Regions from separate parts of the Homo sapiens genome. Here region 2 is linked to region 1. Evidence: promoter capture Hi-C in 16 types of primary human blood cells and fetal thymus (Javierre and others, 2016). All regions are on one chromosome and are shown on one strand. The core of a region is centred on a gene start or on the middle of the fragment in contact, and the rest is flanking DNA. Distances in the headings are between cores, read along the strand shown.

Region 1 (3,087 bases), core at 222-2,721:
CTGCTTTCTGCAGCACCCAGCCTGGGCAGGCCATCTACACAAGCTCAGTCATTTCTGACCTTGCCCCCTCCACCGTGCACCCCCATGTTCTTCAACATGGGTCAGGTTTCTATTCAGCCTCAGGGACTTCTCTGCTTGAAGCCTGTTGTGTGGCGGGGAGGTATTCTCCCCACAGCTCAGAGAGATGGGGTTGCTGTGGAGGGTTTGCTGTAGCTCCTCTACCCTGGAATATACCCTCTTCTGCCTTAAAAGACCCAGCTTGGACCCTCTCTTCCAGAAATGCTTGCTAACCGCCCCCCCACCACCCAAACTAGGTCAGGGGTCCCTCTGGGCTTCACAGACCCTGTGCTTCTTTCTGTCACAGCCTGCAAGTCTCCCCTCCCCACTCCCCAGCCCGAGTGCTTCTCTGAGACAAGGGATAGTGTGAGCCATGAGCTCAGCCACTGGTAGGCCAATGAATAAGTAAGTTAATGGTGAAGCCAGGATCCAAATCCCCATTTCCTGCCTCAAGGTGTGGAGCTGTTTCTCCTGCATACAATAGTAGCTCTGCTGTGACAACTCTCTATCTGTCCTAGGGCCTAAAATGCCTCTATTTCACTAGGTTATAGCTTTATCCTAGGGAGTCCTCTTTGGAAGCAGGGTGGGGGTGCAACAGGCCTTCCCCCATGCCTGTAGTCTGTGAGCAGCGAAGGCCATGTGGGGCAGGCTGTGGCCTAGGTCTCCACAGATCCTGGTAGAAGTCCATGCTCACGCATCAGCTCCAAGTCCCAGCTAAACCAAGCCACCAAGAGGTGGGCCCTGTGACAAGGCTCTGAGTCCAAAGGCCATCAGTAAAGCCCCCTAAGTCTTCCGTGGACCCAGCTCCAGGCTGGGATGCACGCTAGGAGATGATACACACCGGGTGAGGGAGCCCAGAGGAGAGGGCAGCTAGCTGTGCATGGAGGCCTGATCTCTCAGACTTGAGGGCACAAGCGTGTCCCCTCATCCTGAAGGCTTCTGCGATGGGGCAGCAGAGGGTCTGGGTCTGCTGCCCCTCAAGTCCCCAGCCCCATCCTAGCCCATGAGGATTGTAAATCCCTCGTCCTCTCCCCTCTCTCCTCTGTCAGCCACTCCCCTTTCCCCCTACCCCACTCTCTTTCTATTTCTGCCTCTGATTTTTTTTCCTTTTCTGCCTTTGTTCCTCTGTGTGTGTGTTTCTCTATGCCTCTCTGGTCTCTTTGTACTTCCATCTTGATCTCGCTAAGGCTCTGATCCCTCTCTCCTCTCCCTCTTCATGTGTTACTGTCCCCCTTCCTGTCTCTGTTTATCTCTCAGTCTCTCTGTCTGTGAGTCTTTTTTCCTCTCTCCCAGTCAGACTCTCTCTCTACCCCTCCCTCTCTCCCTCTCTCCCTCTCTGTCTGGGCCTCTCTCTGTTCCTCCTCCCTCCTCCCTCCCCCTTCTGCATTATCAGACCTGCTCCAACCTCCTCCCAGAGCCAGCCGAGCAGCAGAGGCAGTGGCAGCGGGAGAGGCGGGAGCAGCGGGGCAGCAGAGCTGGATTGGGGTGTTGAGTCCAGGCTGAGTAGGGGGCAGCCCACTGCTCTTGGTCCCTGTGCCTGCTGGGGGTGCCCTGCCCTGAACTCCAGGCAGCGGGGACAGGGCGAGGTGCCACCTTAGTCTGGCTGGGGAGGCGGACGATGAGGAGTGATGGGGCAGGCATGCGGCCACTCCATCCTCTGCAGGAGCCAGCAGTACCCGGCAGCGCGACCGGCTGAGCCGTGAGTATAGTGAGGGGCTGGGGTGGTGAGCGGCTGTGAGAGGTGCCACAGACAGGGTCCTGGGAGTCCCTCCAAGGAGCTGGGGTTGGCATGGAGCTGAGCCACGTGGAAGGATCGATCCTGTTCCTGGGCACCCCTCCTCCCCGCGTTGCCAGACTGCAGCCTGGGGTGGGGGCAGGTTACCTCTGAGCAGAATGAGGGTGTCTAACGTCAACCTAGTAGGTGATGAGGCTGGGGTCCCATGGAAGGGGCTGCTGGTTGGAGGAGGGGCTGATAATGAACCTGAACCGGTTCTTCAAGGGCTGAGGGTGTATGTGGGGAGGGGGAGGTCTGCCAAGTAGTTGGGAGGAGCTCTCGGGGCTGCAATAGGCTGGTTCAGGACCCGGAGAGGGAGAGTGTCTTGGCCCACCAAGGCTATGTGTGTGTGAAGGAGGTGGGGAGGGGGAAAGATGGAGAAAATATGAATAAGAGTGGCCCTGGAGCAAGAGAGGGTTAGAGGTAACCACCTTCCATGGAATTGGGAATTGGGGTTCAGGGACACCACTTTATGAAACTTTACCCCAAAGCGTCTGTCCCAGGATAGGGTTCTACGGAGCCAGATGGAATATGGTGCCAGCCTCGTGTGTGTCCACGTGCAGGGGGGTGCATGTGCAAGTGAGTGGGGGGCGCCGTGGCGACACCCCTCTACTAAGGGCTGCCGAGGTGGTAGGCAGGGTATGTGTGTGTGTGTGTGTGTGTATACATGTGGAATGTAAGGGACATGTTGGGTGTAGAGGGGCCTGTAGAGCTCTAGGGTCCTTGGTGGTTGGATGTAAAGCAGCCTGTCAGAGTTTGTGATCATCCCTGTGTGAGTGAGAGTTTATTCGCATGTGTCTGAGTGTGAGTGCAGGTTGGTCTGCATATGTATGTAGGTGTGTCTATTAGGTTGAGTTTGTATATTATGTGTGTTGTGTCTGCAAAATAGAGTGAATCAGTGTGCATTTTTTATCTGTTCCATGTGCATTTATGTGTGTGTATTTGTTAGTGTGTGAATAATAGCATTGCTGTGTGTGGAGGTGGATGTGGCTGTGTGCGTATAAGTATTCTGGTGTGGGTGTGTGATCATGGTGCTAGTGTGTATATCGGTGCTTCTGTGGCTGGTGTGTGTGTGTATCTATATGTGTGTATTCATCTGAGTGTGTGTGGGTGGCTGTTTCCTTCCCCTGGCAATTGAGGATACAGCTGGGACACCATGGCCCACTGATGCAGGGCAGGGAGGGGCTGAATGTATGACCGCCTCTTTGAACTCAGGACAATTCATTCTACACCCTGTGGGAAAGATGCAGAAAAGA
Region 2 (3,087 bases), core at 423-2,922, 480 kb before region 1:
AGTGAGTGACAAGTTGGGGGAACCAGAGCTTGCACACCATAGGCCTGAACACTAGCCTCTGGGGAAAGGCAAGTCCAGCTGACCTTGGTGAAGTTAGGACCCGGGCCGAGGCCACCTCTTCTGGTTCACCCTCTGCTGGCCTCCCAGCTTCTTTGGCTCAGCAACACCCAGGATTCCAGGCATGTTTGCCTCTGGCCTTCTAAAAATACCCAGGCCACCCAGCACCTCCCAGATGTCTGAGCGCTGAGTCTGTGATTTCCCTGCCGGTAATGGGACAGCCCCGGGGTGGGCAGGCGGGGGTGGCTCGAGCAGCTCAAGCCACTTCCTCTGCCTCCCATCCCCTAGCCTACCAGAAGCTGGACCCAGCCCTGCCTCCCAATCCTTGCAAGGCAAAGGAGGGTAGAGGCTAGCAGACCTCAGAGATTGTTGACTCCAGTCTCTTCTTGGGACAGATGGGAGATCTGAAGTCTAAGGATTGCTCATGGCACTTGTGCCATTAAGGTCCTCCTCACCCCACTCCCCAGCACTGTGTTCATGCCTGCTGCTGTCTCACTTCCCACATGCTACTTGGAGTCTAGGTCTTGGAGCCCAACCTGACTTCCTCCATGCAGCTGAAAGCTCCTGACAGCAGTGAAGGGGAGGATCCCTGTGGTCTCCATGGTGCCTGGAAGAGTGTCCAATCCAGAGCACACCATCAGTAAACGTAGATTGGATTGAACAATGTAGTGGCAGCTGGGGCAATGGGTGGAGCACTGGGCTGGAGGACAAAGCCTCTGAATTCTATCTAGCCCAGGGTCAGCCACTGTGATACTATGCATCCTCATCAATTGCCCTGGACAAACCTGTTTCTCCTGGGCTGGATAGGATGGTGTCTAAGGACTGAGCCAGCTCTGCTGATATGAAGCTGCAAGCTGATGCCCTGCTGGATATTCCTGTCCCTTCTCTGCTCTACTGTATGTCTGGGAGAGATGGCACAACCTGTAGGTTCCATCAGCTCCAGGTTCTCAGCTTCTGCTCCTCCCTCCGTGCTTCTGAACATTCCACCTCTGGTCCTAGCCCCTGAGGCCCAGCTCTTCCAATAGTGCCACTTCCACCTCTGCTGCTGGGTACACAGGGGTGAATGCATACCTACCTCGCTCACTAATCATGTGACCTTGGGTAAGGCATTGCCCTTTTCTGGGCTTCAGTTTTATCATATCTAAAAGGGAATAATAAGGCCTACCTTAAAGGAGTGCTATGAGGATGTAGGAGATTCCATAGCTCAGATGTCAGGTTATATATCACCTCCTGCAGAAAGTCTCCCCTGTCCTCCCAAGGATGGCTCAGATAGCATTTGTTGCTGGCTCTTCAGTTCTGACCTTCCCATGTTCACACTATGTGGTCATTGGCTCTCTATGCATCCATCCCCCACCAAGCTGTGGGCTCCTCAAGGCCAGGAGTCTCCAGGACCCAGTACAGGACCTTTACAGATGAAGTGCCTGGGAACGTTTTTTGACAGACACAGTGGGTGAGTAAAGCCTGAGAGAAAGGCAAGGGGTTGTGCAGAAGTCTGGGAGTCTGAGTAAGAAGTGGCCTGACTGACAGGGCAAGTTCTGGTGGTATGAATATTGACAGCTGCTTGGAGCCCTTCCCCCATTTCCCTGCTTGGTAAATTCATCCTTCAAGATCCCAGGAGAGCATCTCCTTCCCTGAGAAACCTGATCACTCTCCCCTCTACCACATTACACACTCCACTGTAGGTGTTCTTTACACACCTGTCTCCCTTCTCAGATGTGAGTTCCCTGAAGGCAAGACCCTGTTGGATCTCACAGCACCAAGCACTAGATCTGGCATGAGTTAGTCAAGGTTTTGGAGCAGAAGAATGGATGGAGGAAATAATTTCTGAATCGAACTTGGAATTGAACTGCCTGAACTTTAATGCCCTTTCCAGCCTTAGGGATGATAATGAATTACCAAAGTGAGAAAAATGGAGGCGCAAGCTGTTGTCATCCTTCCAGAGGCACCCTCCAAGTGTGTGTGGGTGAAATGTGAGCTGGAGAGAGGATTGACAAAGAGCAGTGAAAACATATTCCTGGACCCCATTCTTTTTTTTTTTTTTTTTTTTTTTGAGATGGAATTTCCCTCTTGTCATCCAGGCTGAAGTGCAATAGCTCAATCTCGGCTCACTGCAACCTCCACCTCCCAGGTTCAAGCGATTCTCCTGCCTCAGCCTCCCGAGTAGCTGGGATTACAGACACACACCACCACGCCCAGCTATTTTTTGTATTTTTAGTAGAGATGGGGTTTCACCATGTTGGCCAGGCTGGTCTCGAACTCCTGACCTCAGGTGATCCACCTGCCTCGGCCTCCCAAAGTGCTGGGATTACAGGCATGAGCCACTGTGCCTGGCCTGAACCCCATTTTTATCTCTGGATTTTTCTCTCTGTTGAAGAATTGCTGCAGAAACCATATTCTAAGTATAAAAGGCCTTTAGATACCTAAGATGATCCCCAGAACCTTGATGTGAATCCATTTACTCATACTTTACATTCTCACTTTACACTTTGAGCATGAAGCCCATGGTGATCTGGTTGTAAAAGGTTTAAAGGTTAATTGGCAGCCAATGTTGGGGGTGAGAAGTTGCTGCTGCAGGCAGGCAGGTATTCACCAAGGCAGCAGAGAGAGGAGGCATCTGCCAGGCTGGTAGAAAGGAAATAGAAAAAGAAAACAGGCCGAGAGCGGAGGCTCAGGCCTGTAATCCCAGCACTATGGGAGGCCAAGGCGGGCGGATTGCTTGGTTGCAGTGAGCCAAGATCGTGCACTACACTACAGCCTGGGTGACAGGGCGAGACTCCATCTTAAAAAATCATAATAAATAAAATAAAAATACAAAAATTATCCAGGTGTGGTTGTGCATGCTGTCGTCCCAGCTACTCGGGGCGCTGAGGCAGGGGAATTGCTTGAACCTAGGAGGTGGAAGTTGCAGTAAGCTGAGGTCACACCCCTACACTCCAGGCTGGGTGACAGAGCGAGACTCCGTCAAAGAAAAGAAAAGAAAATAGAAGAGAAAAGAGAAGAAAGAAAATGGGCAAAAGCAACTAAAGGTAC

Evidence for each region. The method cuts DNA at HindIII sites, captures the fragments that hold promoters and counts their contacts. A CHiCAGO score of 5 or more calls a contact.
Region 2: a contact is called between a fragment that was not itself captured here and the fragment with the promoter of PDE2A in region 1, in 1 of 17 cell types (neutrophils). The highest score is 6.1, in neutrophils.

Annotation. Positions count from the first base shown.
Region 1 is chr11:72,672,806-72,675,892 of GRCh38, reverse strand. PDE2A (phosphodiesterase 2A) reads left to right here and starts at 1,471. Exons shown (of 31, transcript NM_002599.5): 1 at 1,471-1,756. The coding sequence starts at 1,686. RefSeq lists enhancers at 1-247, 398-1,022, 1,023-1,649, 1,650-2,275, 2,276-2,902. The HindIII fragment of the contact is 6,386 bases long and covers 1-3,087 here.
Region 2 is chr11:73,154,804-73,157,890 of GRCh38, reverse strand. It overlaps IUR1 (imatinib upregulated ABL suppressing lncRNA 1), which reads left to right. Exons shown (of 4, transcript XR_950294.3): 4 at 1-2,111. Among named protein-coding and RNA genes, the nearest start is that of FCHSD2, 14 kb to the right of the region's middle. RefSeq lists enhancers at 45-224, 375-514, 525-574, 1,065-1,154. The HindIII fragment of the contact is 9,109 bases long and covers 1-3,087 here.